Regions from separate parts of the Homo sapiens genome. Here all the other regions are linked to region 1. Evidence: promoter capture Hi-C in 16 types of primary human blood cells and fetal thymus (Javierre and others, 2016). All regions are on one chromosome and are shown on one strand. Each heading gives the region's core, a stretch centred on a gene start or on the middle of the fragment in contact. The rest is flanking DNA. Distances are from core to core; before and after follow the strand shown. Region 1 holds the start of ABCD3 (ATP binding cassette subfamily D member 3). Region 2 has its middle 7.0 kb from the start of MIR760. Region 3 holds the start of FNBP1L (formin binding protein 1 like). Region 4 overlaps BCAR3 (BCAR3 adaptor protein, NSP family member).

The links. The method cuts DNA at HindIII sites, captures the fragments that hold promoters and counts their contacts. A CHiCAGO score of 5 or more calls a contact.
Region 2: a contact is called between a fragment that was not itself captured here and the fragment with the promoter of ABCD3 in region 1, in 2 of 17 cell types (non-activated CD4 T cells and naive CD8 T cells). The highest score is 6.7, in non-activated CD4 T cells.
Region 3: a contact is called between the fragment with the promoter of FNBP1L here and the fragment with the promoter of ABCD3 in region 1, in 4 of 17 cell types (naive B cells, total B cells, naive CD8 T cells and 1 more). The highest score is 7.9, in naive B cells.
Region 4: a contact is called between a fragment that was not itself captured here and the fragment with the promoter of ABCD3 in region 1, in 1 of 17 cell types (total CD4 T cells). The highest score is 5.5, in total CD4 T cells.

Annotation. Positions count from the first base shown.
Region 1 is chr1:94,416,946-94,420,041 of GRCh38, reverse strand. ABCD3 (ATP binding cassette subfamily D member 3) reads right to left here and starts at 1,653. Exons shown (of 23, transcript NM_002858.4): 1 at 1,454-1,653. The coding sequence starts at 1,563. RefSeq lists enhancers at 1,062-1,201, 1,673-2,464 and a silencer at 1,532-1,911. The HindIII fragment of the contact is 10,166 bases long and covers 1-3,096 here.
Region 2 is chr1:93,838,037-93,841,564 of GRCh38, reverse strand. It overlaps a transcript of BCAR3 not described here. Among named protein-coding and RNA genes, the nearest start is that of MIR760, 7.0 kb to the left of the region's middle. RefSeq lists a silencer at 1,985-2,185. The HindIII fragment of the contact is 1,011 bases long and covers 1,095-2,105 here.
Region 3 is chr1:93,446,466-93,449,820 of GRCh38, reverse strand. FNBP1L (formin binding protein 1 like) reads right to left here and starts at 1,703. Exons shown (of 17, transcript NM_001164473.3): 1 at 1,516-1,703. The coding sequence starts at 1,539. RefSeq lists silencers at 1,546-1,595, 2,535-2,829 and an enhancer at 1,076-2,054. The HindIII fragment of the contact is 14,675 bases long and covers 1-3,355 here.
Region 4 is chr1:93,622,994-93,626,277 of GRCh38, reverse strand. The region is part of intron 3 of BCAR3 (BCAR3 adaptor protein, NSP family member); the gene reads left to right. Among named protein-coding and RNA genes, the nearest start is that of BCAR3-AS1, 33 kb to the right of the region's middle. The HindIII fragment of the contact is 2,518 bases long and covers 418-2,935 here.

The DNA of each region.
Region 1 (3,096 bases), core at 404-2,903:
TCTATGCCCTGAAACACTTCTTTGCAAAAACAGAATTCAAGTTAAAGGACCTAACATCTTCTTTCTACTGGCATGTTCCCAGGTAACAGGTAACTTCTATTTGCAACTGGGAGTTCATACAAACCAACAGAAAAACTTGCTTTTTATTTTCCCAAATTAATCCTTTTAAAAGCAAACTGAATAGAAGAAAAATGAGTAAGCGCTGTTATTGCCCAGACTATGCTGCAAATCATTTTCAACTCTGTTAAATGGATTTAGGAAGGAAAAGAAAGATCATCACTTCAGACTCTAGTAAGATAAAAACAGAAGGCGGCTAGAAAGAACTTAATGGAAAGGGTACTATAAACTAGAAGTCTATTTGTGTTTTAGCCCAAATTTTACTACTAATTAGATATTGTAGGCAAATCAAACACGGGAGGCAACAGTACCTGCTCAGAGGAATGAATGAAATAAAATTCATGAAAGTAGTATGTCAAGATTTAATACGAAATATTCAATGACTGGCAAGAACGCTTGGGAAGTAGCCTTTTCTCTTTCACTTGTCCAGCAAATAAAAATTGCATGTATGTGACATACATACCTGTATGTCGCAACCGTAATTCAGCTCTCTCTTTTTTACTTTTTCTGAACTGATAACCTCCCAAAGTTAAATCTAAGCACTGAAATTCTCCCGCGGTGGAAGCAGTGGCGTGTCATTAAAAAGGAGCTTGATCCTCACCTAAACCACACTCTCATCTTTCACCTACAGAGCCCAGGAAGGAAAACATTTCCCTCTAAGTCCGACAGAACCGATCCAGCCTTTCCGGATGAAATGCCACCGACCAAATGTTCACCGACCAAAGGGTTCACCGACTCCAAGGGCTCACCACTTTAGACGGCAATCCTGCCAAGTGGACCGGGAATAGTTTCATAGAAGCCACCCTCGCGACTTTCAATAGCAGTTAGTCGGGAATCGAGCCAAACCTCGTCCAAGTGACTTAGACACCAGCCTCCAGCCTGGCGAATCCAATCCCCATCCTCAATCACACATCCACGTCCCCAAAACAAATCCTTCACGGTCTGAAGATGAGATGGCAAAACCAGAACACACCCAGAAAGTTGACACAGAAGGGGGTGATGTAGGGAAGGGGGTGGGGGACACACCGCATCCCCCTCCCACCCCCAACTGGAGGCCGCTGCCTGAGTGCTGGCTGGGCGCCGGTTCGCCCGCGGGCACAGAAGAATTCGCACTCCCGGGGTGGAGCGAGGTCGCCGGACAGGCCAGCTGGGACCGACGCCGTCGTGGCGGGGACTCGCGGACACCCTGACATTGAAGTCCCACGGCAGTCGCGGTCGGCCCTCTCTCCGCCCGACCCCGTCGGGCAAAGAGACCTGTCGGCCGGGTGGGGAGAGAGAGCGCGCGGGGAGCGCCCGCTCCAGCCCGGGAAAGCTGCACGGCTACGGGCCTTCTTACCCGTGCAGGCCGAGGGCGCGGCGCCGCTTGTGGAGCAGGCAGAGCAGCAGGAACGCGGCACCAGCCAGCGAGGAGTTTCGCGCCGTCAAGTACTTGCTGAAGGCCGCCATGGCACTGCCGGTACCAGCGAGCCGGCGAGGGGACGCGGCGGCGGCGGCGGCGGCGGCTACCTTACTGCACGCAGCGCGGGGGAGACTGGGAGGAGAGCAGAGGGCGGGGCCGGCCGCGCAGGACCGCCCCCTGGCTCGCGCCGCCGCGCCGCCCGCGCTCTGGAGCCCACTTTGTACTTTGGCCCGGCGGGAGCGCGCTCGGCAGCCTCCGTGGGCGGAACAGTTCCCGGGACGCGCTCTGCGCACGCGCGGACTCCTTCAGGGTCTCCGGAAACGCGGCGCGGAGGAGCTGTTGCTACTCAGCCCTGCGAGGCGTCAGTGCTGCCCCTGCCTCACCCCTACCCTCCCACTCTTCGCGCGCACACCCCGGCTTTCACAATAACTGGATGAGCGGGCCTGGCCTGCAGCGACGACCTAGTGGGCCCTGCCTCTCCACTCCCGCGGTGATGTACCGTTACCACCCTCTTAAAGGAGCCCAGGAAGGAGGCGGACGGCCCCGTCACAGAGCGTGTAGGGAAAACACAGCACAGTGATTATCAGGACGAAACCAAACAATCGGAACTCCGCAGAGGTGTAGGGAGATGTGAGGAGAATGACACAGATCAAAGAGCTTTTTCCAAGCCAGTATTTTCCAAACCGCGGGTTATAATCTCTAGCGCATTGTGAAATTGGTTTGGTAGATCGGGATCATCACCCTCCGTTTTTAATAAAATTGAGAATAGAACAAAATAGAAAAGTTTCACAGTACATCACGTAGTAAAGGAGTTGTTTAGAGAAATTTCGATTTCAGTGTTTTGCACGTATGTATCGCCAGCGGCGATGTAAAATGTATGCAGATCTGGTCAGAAAAAAGTTTGAGAAACACTGTTCTTTGCAAAGGGACATTCAGAAGTAACAATCGTGCGTTGTATTAATGCTGGCCTCACTCCCAGAATCAGAAGGGCTTTGCAGATTACAACATTCTTCTCCTGTCTGACCCTATGTTGCAGGAATTGTTATCGCCAGCATTGAGCCTAGCATATATACAGTAACAGTGAATCGCTGTTTTCAGCTGAGGAAACTGGAGAAAAGCAAGTGTGTCAGAAAATAAGCTCATAAAACCTCGCATAATGCACATACATATTAAAGTAGCCTACAAAGTAGTGGTGCTGTGCCCTAGGTGTTTTCTCAATATAAATGAGCTGTTGCCTAATACAGGTTATGAGGATCACAAAGACGAGGTACAATAATGGCATGCGTATAGAGGTGCTCAACAGTGAATTCTAAATTATGCAGAACTGAAGCTCCTACTAATTCACTATTTGTCATGTGGACATTTTCATTACCTGGAGGGACAAAAGGTTTTGGCCCTCTGAAAGTTAACTGAAAACCGCTGACATAAGGCAGATTAATAGAAGAAAAAATTAATAGGAGAAAAGGCATACAAATTTAATGTGTATACATGGGAGCGTTCAGAATGGAGACCCAAAGATACTTGGAAAATTGTCCATTTTTGTGTTTAGGTTCAACAAAGTATGGACAGCTATGTAGAAA
Region 2 (3,528 bases), core at 351-2,850, 580 kb after region 1:
GATCTCATGGCTGGTTGCCTGGCTGACCAGGCTTCCAAGCCTAGTAGGGCTCAGGAAGGATGTAGGAGTATCTTGTAAGTGGCAGTTACCTGTCTCTGCTGTTGAGATGGCTAAACAAAGGCTGAGCCTTACTTGGGTCTTCAAGGCTGGTCAGGCTTGTCCCTGCACAAACAAAAGACCACATTCATTCATTTAAGCATTGAGACTAGCCAGGCTCTCCACAAGTCTCTTGGGACCCTTTGGTGAAGAAGACAAATGCTGTCCTTGCTGCCATGGACCTTGCAATCTTGAGCAAAGTCAGACAGCAGAGCATGAATGAGTATAGGAAATGGGCTTGACTTAAGAGATACAGCTGAGAAAGTCAGTGGGGCAAAGATCCGGAAGCGCTTCAAATGCAAGGCTAAGGAGCCTGGGGTTGAGCAGCCCCATGTCACCTCCTCCGAGAATTTTCCCAGACATTCTTCTGCAGCCTAGTCTGCTGGTGGTGGGGAGGGACTCCTGGATTCCCAAGGTACTTTCAAAGCTCTATAATTTTCTGTGTGGTTTTCTATCTCTTCTCCCAGACAATAAGCATCTTGGGGGAGTGGGAGGAAAGTGGGGGGAGCACGTCTTCTTTTCCTTTATCTTTGTAACCTCAGTCCCTAGCATTGTGGCTAGCTCACAACAAGTAGCTTTGAATATTGATTGAACAAATGAATGAGTCCTGTAGGCAATAAGGAAGCTACTTGACTATGTGCCTAGCTTATCTTCTGCATTAGACCAGAAGCTCTTGAAAGCTAAACATCCGTGCTTTCTAACTGTTTTGTAATTCTCCCCAAGGCTTGGCAGAATATCATGTACACAGTGGACACTCCATAAATGATGCCTGAATGCGTTTGTGGAAGTAGAAGTGGATCTTCAGTGTCCTAATTCCTGCTTTCAGTGACCCAGTTTGGGGGAGTAGGTCTTAAATTTCTTCCCCTCAGAATGACATCTCTGCCTTTTAAGTTCTCAACAAACTAGTAGGATGACTTCTTCTGGTAAGCATATTTGGAAGGAAAGGCATTCTGAGCCCCACTCGTGGGCCTCACAACAAATAACCATCTATTAAAGCTTAGTGAATCTTAATTGTTTAGCAGTTGAAAATAATAATGAAGTAATAACGCATCACACCAGGCACTTTTCTGGGTTCTTCATGTATATCAGACCTCACTTAATCTTCATAACAACCCTCTAAGGTAGGCAGGATCATTGCCCCATTCCCAGATGGGAAGGCAAACCACAGGGAAAGCAGCAGGATTGAATCCAGGCACCTGTCCCCAAGTTCACATATACCCTGGACTACAGCAGTTTCTCCTAGAAAAGAAATCAGGAGAGAATCAGCAAGCAACTGGGAGCAGACTTGTTAGACTAGCGGTCTTCAAACTCTACCACGCTCTAGAATCTTGATGCCCAGGATGCACCCTGAGGCCAGTTAAATCACAATTTCTGGGGATGGGACCCTGGCATCAGCATTTTTTTTAAACTCCCTAGGTGATTCTCATATGTAGCCAAATTTGAAAATAATGCCCTCTGCCCTTCCTGCAAAAATGCTGACCATGAACCAGGAGTATCAGCATGACCTGGGAGCAGATTAGAAATGCAGGCTCTCGGCCCCACCCTAGGCCTGCTGAATCAAATCTGTATTTTACTAAGATCCCCTCAGTGACTCATTTGCACTAAAGTTTAAAATGCACTGGTTTAGGGCTTAGGTATTCAAGCTCTCATTATTCCACTTGGGCTTCTGTTATTAGCATGAATTTAAATCCTTAATAAGCAAATCTCAAAACTCCATCAAAAAGCTCAGAATCAATCTGATATATTGGCCCAAAAAAATTACTTCAGAGGAAACTATGACCTTTTACTTCTCATTTTGTGAGGGAACTGAGGAAGAAAAGTTATATTGCTAATGGTGTCTAACAGAATGTAGATTCAGTCCAATCTAAAAGAGGCAGATGAATAACTCCTGGCTGCCTTCCTTCTTCTGAGTCAGAAGGATCAGGCCCACGACCTCAGTTAGGCAATGACCATACTTGAGTACCAAGCTGATTGATAAAGAAAATCCTCCAGCCAGAGGTATCTAAGCTTTCACAACTTCTGCTGTTTCCCCATGGTATGTTCCTGTTATAGACCCATAGATGAGATCAGCAATCCTTGTCCCAATTGAGATCTTGTTGTTTGTCATTCAGCTTTCTGAATCTAACTAGATACATTGCCCACTTTTTAGTTTAGTTTAGTTTTTTTCTTTTTATTTTCTTTTAGACTGAGTTTCACTCTTTTTGCCCAGGCTGGAGTGCAGTGCCACAATCTCGGCTCACTGCAACCTCCACGATTCAAGCGATTCTCCCACCTCAGCCTCCTGAGCAGCTGGGATTACAGGCACATGCCACCACGCCCAGCTAATTTTATATTTTTAGTAGAGATGGGGTTTCACCAGGCTGGTCTCAAACTCCTGAGCTCAGGTGATCCACCTGCCTCGGCCTCCCAAAGTGCTGGGATTACAGGCGTGAGCCACCACGCCTGGCACTTTTTAGTTTTTATTTGCCATTGCTTTGTTTATTTATAACTAAATAACTGAAATTTGGAACTAGACTCAGAATGTGTCCCAGTTCATCTGAAGGACATGGAGGTCCACTGGGATGCTCCTTATTTCACTATTTCACTATTTTTTGGTCTTTGCCCACTTTTTCCTTGAAATGATCCATTCTGTGCATTTTATTATATCTCAAGACATCAGGTAGATAGTCACAACCAGTAGCAAATACACCGGCTGAAATTGCCCTCCTTGCTTGGAATGTCTGCCCTTGAATGCAAATTATTTACTTCTGGATCCCTGACAGTGTAATTGTATAATAACTGCGTTTGTAGAATGGTAAGGTTAGCATCCCGTTTTTCTCAGATCTTCAGTAGCAGACTATAAATGACTAGAAAGGGGAGGGCTACTTAGTATCAAGTTTTTCAACACTAGTAATGGAGAGGTGCTATGGTTTGCATAGAGTTAGTTTGTCCCCACCAAAATGCATGTTGATATTTGATCCCCAGTGTGGCAGTGTTGGAGGTCAGACCTAGTGGGGGGTATTTGGGTAATGAGGGTGGATCCTTTATGAATGGCTTCGTGCTACTCTCATAGTAGTACATGTGTTCTCACTGTTGCTAGACTGGATTACTTCTCATGGATATGGATTGGTTTCCAGGGAGTGGGTTGTAATAAAGACAGGATGCTCCTCAGGTTTTTCTCCCCCTTCACACATGTCCACTTCCCTTTTGATCTCCTTTGCCATGTTGTGATGCAGCACAAAAGCCCTTGCGGGAAGCAGGGCCATGCCCTTGAACTTCTCAGCCTGCAGAACTGTGAGCTAAGCAAACCTCTTTTCTTTATGAATTACCCAGTCTCCAGTATTCTTTTATAGCAATACAAAACAGACTAAGGCCAGGAGCATAAAGAGAGAAAGAAAGGGGCCATCCCTTCCCCCATTTCTCTGGATGATCTTACTTGCTGGCCAAGCGTTT
Region 3 (3,355 bases), core at 454-2,953, 970 kb after region 1:
TAAGGGAAAAAGGCCAATAATGCCTGAGAAACTAACCAATGTAAAAGAATTAAACTTTATGTAATTCATTTACCATGCAATCCTCCCCAATATAAGAACAATTAATGCTATCTAAGAAACGGAATGAAGGGGCTCCTAAGGTATTTTCTCTTGGGTGGTGTGTTTTCAGACTGGGTAAGCACTTGTACAGAATGTTGCACAAGAGATTCCTGGCTGGCTAAGTAAAGCATTCACTAGATGGACTCTAAAGTCTCACAGTTCTAAGATTCCCAATCTATGAGTAGACGTGAAAAATAAGAAAACATTTTGCCTTTCAATTAACCCATTGGCTTTCACTCCCACCCTAGCTGGGCACACACATACTCAAAAGTTATTTCTCCCCTTTCTCTGCAGTGATTTCACGAGATCCTCGCGAACAAAAGGCACGGAAAACAGGCACAGGTGGAATAAAAAGGGGAGTGGCTGAGGCCAGGCGGCTCTCGGGACAGCGCCCCCACGCCCCCAGTTCTCCCGGCCGCACCTGAGAAATCACTGCCCTCCGCACCTGAGAAATCACTGCCCTCCACACCTCGACCCTTCCGCGCCGGCGCCAGGAGCAAATTCTCCGACCTATTACCCTCCGCCCGTACCTTGGCCAGACACTGGGCATTGTCTGGAGCCTCCTGTGCCAAAGAAAGGCAAGGAGGAAAGGAAAGGAGAGAACGAAGGAGAAAGAACAAGTGAGAATAAAGAACGGAAAGGGAAGTAAAGCAACAGGGAGACCGTACGCTCCTTTTGGTAAAATTAGCTTCCTCATCGATCACTCGATTTAATTCAGCCCCCAAAACCAACCCACCAGCCCAAAGGCTGCAGCCGGGGGTGGCCAAACCGGAGTCCCTCGAAGCTGTGCCCGCCCGAAGCACTGAGGCAGGGAGAGAGAAATGTGCGTGTGGGCTGGGCCTGGCTGGCCCGAGGCCGGGCTCCGAACAAAGCCGCCTGGGTCCCCATACCTGGGGCGAGGGCTCTGGGCGGCGCCGCCCCAGACGGGCGACGCCCTAGCCCCGCGGACCTGGCCCGGGCGAGGAATCGCGGCCGGTCCCCTCCCCGCCCTCGAACAGCGCCCCTTGGGGACAATGGGCCCCCTCCCCCGCCTCCGGGAGGAGAGATACAAAGGAAGAGAGGAGCCGCCGGGCGCGAAGCCAGGCGTCGGGAAAAGTGAAGGTGGAGGAGGGAGAAGGAACAAGAGGGGATCACGGCGCACGCAGGAGCCCGCGGGCTGCTCCCCCGGCCGTCCCGGGCGCCGCCCGAGCTGCACCACGGCGGCAAAGGCGGGAGCACGGACTAGCGGCCCCCTAGACCCCCGGCCGAGAAGGGAAGAGGAGTCTGCACACAAAGACGAGCGGGACCCTCACCCTCCGCCAGCGCCGGACCGAGGACGGCGGAGCGCGCTTTCACCGCCGAGGGTCCGCGGCGCCCGCCCAACCCGCGCTTCTCAGGGGCCGGGGTCCGTGCGGGGCGCCCCTCTCCCCGACTCACCCACAGCTCCGTGCCCCAGCTCATGGCGGAACTTTCTGGCCGTCTGGCGGTGCCGCTGTCCTTCAGTCTGTCGGCTCCACAGTCTGTCCGACCTCTCACTCGCTGGCCGGCGGGCTAGCAGCTCAGCGGGTCTACCTCGAAAGGTGCCGCCACCGCCGGGCTCCCCAGTGAGTGAGAAAGACGCGACTGGAGAAGCCTCCGCCGCCGACGCGTCCCCGCCTCCCCGCGCTGGGCGGGAGGGGGCCGGGGCCGAGGGGAGGCGGAACGCGGCGCGGGGAGGGGGCGGGGCGCAGTGCATCCTGGGATCGGGGAGGACCTGGGCTAGCCTGGCCACCGCCGGCGGGGTCCCCAAGCGGGCACCTGGTCACCCTCGCTGGCCCCTCTCGCTGGTCGAGTCTCCTCCTGCAGGTACCCCGGAGCTTGGACTGCCCCCACTCCGCTGCCAGTCGGACCCCTGTTTCCAAGATAGAAAGGGAGAGAAGGGAAAAGACCCCCACCGCCGCTATTATCTCATTCCTCCTCTGCGCTGAGCCCCTTTACATGAGGCAATTTTAGTTACCTGCCTTTCCTGCCTCTTGTCTCCTCCACTCGGGAGAAACCTTGACAGGGAAGCGTCATCCAAATCCTAGAGTTTAGACTGAGGAGAGTTGTGTTTTATTTTTTTAAATCTTGATGCTTAAGGTGATCTCTCCTTTCAAGCCTGATGCTTTGGCATGACGATTCTTGGGAACCACCAAAATGTGCACAGGTTGAACAGCAAATGTGAAGGCAACATGTCCCCGATTCTGTCTTTAATTAAATATTTTAATTTTATAAATTCTGTCAGGAAATTATAAAAAGAGGCAGCTCTTCCAGTAATCATTTAGGTATGTTGCCAGCGCACGAGATGGAAGACGTGGACAAATGTGAGCCGAGCTGTCACCTGCGGAAGATGAGAAGGCAGCTTGCCCCATGTCTGGAATGGGCACCTCGTGGGTGAGGGTTGGATGGGAGCCAGATTTTTCTCTGGTAGTGTAAACAGCTTATTCGGAACTTCAGATCTCTTTCACCTCCCAGTATCGGAACCTTGGAGGCAGGTCCACTACTTCCTTTTTTCTCTATGGAGCTACTTCCTGGCCTATCTCCATGGAAAGGCTGTTAGCTAGTTTGGCTGGTGCTACTAGATATCAAGTACGCTGAGCAACTCCCTAACATATGCTTTAGTATTAATAGCTTGTCTCCTAAAGCAAGCAAGCGCACACACACACACTTCAAAACAGTCAACTAGTAGAGTACTCCTCAGTGCGTCATGACAGCTGGGTGTTTTAGGAAGCTCTCCCAACGGGTTCTTTGTCAGCATTGAAACTCCTCCCCTACCTGGCCTGGACAGGTGTTCCAACCTCTTCCGCTTAATCCGTATTCTTTTGCCTAGCTGCGCTCCCTCTTGGAGTTGAGGCCAACAGCCTGAGTTCGCCTGACAGTCCAGTTGCTAATCTTCCTAAATTCTCTGCTGTCCTTTTCTGAGGCCACTTTAAGCATACAAATGCCCTCTTCCAAGTGGGTTATAGCCAATTTTTAAATGCTTAACTTTGTACCATGCAGTGAAAAGCCTGTGAAGGATTGAACAACACTTTCTAACATTTTTCTACATTGCCTCTATTCCAAAATAATTTCTTCGTTTATTTATGTCACCTAACACTGTTAACCGCCTCTCCCATCACTTCCTATCACTCCCTAGAATCATGAATGTATTTTGCAATTGCAAGTAACATTAATTAGTAAGGGGAAATGGATTTTTTTTTTTTTGAGACGGCGTTTCACTCTTGTCACCCAGCCTGGAGTGCAGTGGCGCGATCTCGGC
Region 4 (3,284 bases), core at 427-2,926, 790 kb after region 1:
TTTAAAGAGACTTGTTTTTAATGTAGGAAAGACATTAAATTTTCATTTAAAAGTAAGGAAAAAATTGAGAGTCAATCCTTGAAGTAAGGGTTCTCAATTGTGGGCCTGTTCCTTGCAGTGGAGTGGATTGTGACACCTCTGGAAATGCTAACTCTATGTAACATAACCAAGTCATGATATACTGTAAAGATCTGGTTGCTCATCATATACTATAAAGTGCTAGGCCAGAAGCAATTGTAACTCTCCTCTCATTGCTTTATATTAAAACTCTGAAAACCCCAAGCTTGGTGAGGCCAAGGCTGGGTTATGGCAAGGTGCTCTGCCTGAGTATGCAAGTGTAGTCGAGGGAGAAATTTGTTGCAGGGATCCATTTACTTGGGACAGGCTGGAAGTGCGCATTCTCCTGATCCTTAAGCTTTTATTAATTGCTGCAGCCTTGGCTCCTTCTATGCTCCCAGTGTGGATTTGCTGGCTGAGCTCCATCCATCCTTTATGTGAATGAAGATAAGGATGTGTCAGACCCTGGGAATGAGAACATGCTGTTTGGCCCTTCAAGGCAATTTCCTTTCGAGTCCCAGCCCTCTCCAGATGGCATCTAATTGTTTCTTGAATGACCTCAGTGTCCAGGCTGCAGGAACCTGGTCTGAGAAGCCATTTCACATATTTATTAGCCTGTGGATGAGAACTTACTATATAAAGCCCCCATTCACATTCTCAAAAGAGCTTTTTGTACAGAAGAAATAAGGAAACTGATGGACTGTTTCCTGTGACCACCAGTCTTCAGCCGGATTCTTATTTTTACCAGGCCCAGGTGGGTGTATTTTGAAGGGGTCTGTGTGGTCCAGCTGAATCCATCCTGGTTCAGTGCCCTCCTGTCTGTCTCCTCATGGTCTCTACATGAAAGCCTTGACAGAATAGAGTCAAGTCCCCTTACCTCCTGGTTTCAGGATTACTTGAACAGAGTACAGGTAGTGTGAGTTGGGAATTACTGCATTCTGGAAGCCTCTCCCAGTTTGGAATCCCAGCTAGTTCAAAGTTTGAGAGAGTAAAATGACTCTTTTATTTTTGAGATGGAGTCTTGCTCTGTCACCCAGGCTGGAGTGCAGTGGTGCAATCTTGGCTCATTGCAAGCTCTGCCTCCTGGGTTCACGCCATTCTCCTGCCTCAGCCTCCCGAGTAGCTGGGACTACAGGCCCCCGCCACCATGCCTGGCTAATTTTTTTGTATTTTTAGTAGAGGTGGGGTTTCACCATGTTAGTGAGGATGGTCTTGATCTCCTGACCTCGTGATCCGCCCTCCTCGGCCTCCCAAAGTGCTGGGATTACAGGCATGAGCCACCGCGCCTGGCCGTAAAATGACTCTTAGGGCCAAAGTGGGAAGCAGCCGTAATTCAGCCAGAGGCTGGCAAGGCTGGCTTACCCGGTGAGGAGCATGACTTCTGTGTGGCCTGTCATCCCTCACGCCTCTGCAGTTCTGAACTATTTTTGGAGAGACAGGGAAGGGCCCCTACCTTCTTGCAAATACCATGAACAAGAGCCACGTCTCTAGAAATATGCATGCACACTTACTGCACATCTTAGTTCCAGGTGTTTGTGGACCCCAGGTTGAGAATCCCTGAGCTATCTCCAAATGTTCAGTGGGCCCCTATCATGTTCAGGCATTCCAATGATGACAATAAGACATGGGTCATGAGGCCAACAGACAAGGGCACCAGTCATTTTAATGAGTGCTTCAGTAGCTGAACCCTGGAGGACAGGGTTGGAGCTAGGGCTTCTTAAGGGGAGAAGGAAACCCCTACGGGCCCACACAGACTGAGAGCAGGGGCTCCCAAACTTCCAGGCCATGTCCACCTAAGGACTGTCTAAGGAGCACATTTGGGAAGATTTGAATGTGATTTGGAGATGATGTAAACGTCCTGTCCTTTGACCTGGAAAGAAGTCATGAGGGTTGCCCTCGCAGGTGACTGTACCGGGAAAAGCTCACCTGGCCTCAATAAGGGGATGTCTCAGCCAGTACCTCTAAATTGGGTCCTGTGGCCTTCCACATAGCAGAAAAGCCTTTTGGAAACATCCTCCAGGAGCTGAGGATGGTGCTGATGCCACATAAGCAGGGCTGAGAATGCAGTTTGTTTGTGCTTTCCCCTGGCTGGGAGGTGCTGGGTGTGGGAGCAGAACTCACCCCTACACCAGTGGCACAGTACATTCCAACAACATGAATCCCTCTCCCTCTTCCTAGAGGCAAATTCGTGTATTGTTATCCTTGAAAACTCAAGGCAACTCAATTATTTCCATGGAAGTCCCTGGAATAGACTGCAAAACACCATTAATTTCCATTCATTGCTGACACATGAGTGTACAACCCTATTATTAATGGGTGTATAATATGCATGTTTTCATGTAACATCAGTTCATGTTGGCTCCTTGTAGCATTTCTCAGATACAGAGATCACATTTTATACACATAATCTCCAACAGAGCCAGACACAGTATGTTACATCTCCATCTCAAGTTTTAATCTTACACTGATAAGGTGAGCCTGTAAACCCAAATTGATGGTGTGAGCTAGGAAACTTACCTCTGGGAAGGGCAGGGGTGGAGTGGCCTGGGTTGATGACTACTTCTGGGAAGGAAAACATTTTTAGGACCTTAGTCTCTTGCATCTGCCTCTCTCAGCACTTTGACCACATTCTCTTCCATCAGCTTCTTTATGCAGTGAGGGCCTGGCTGTGGGCTGCTCTAGGCTTATATTCTTAAGGCTTGTGGTCCAAGGGGAAAAGGGGATGTCTCTCTCAGCCCTAGTTTGAAAAGTCTCAGGGAAGGACTCTGTTTGGTCTCATGTCATTCACCTGCTTACTCTTGGACCATTCAGTGTTCAGTATTCTGATTGGCTCACACATCCATTAAAAGGATGAATACACATGCTACTCAGTAAAGCTTTTAAATATAATAGCCACCACCTGCTATCTATACCATTCCCCCCCTTACATTTTTAGGATCAGAAGTATATTCTGCTATATTTCTATTATCTCTATTCAGGATACATATATAAAATGTTGAGACATGAATGCTAAGTTTTGCGAAAAAAAAGAAAATCTTTTCAAGTCCTATTCCCATCTTTCCCTAGTTTATCTCCCTCCTGGTTTATGTACTGGATACCCATTGCCTCCAAGTTTGCCAGATTTGCTACTGTTACAGAGAAGTTATGGGCAGGGGGTGGGGATGTCCAGAGGGGCTGTGGATCCCCAGCCCATCTATAGCTTGTCCTTGGATGGATTCCCACATCTT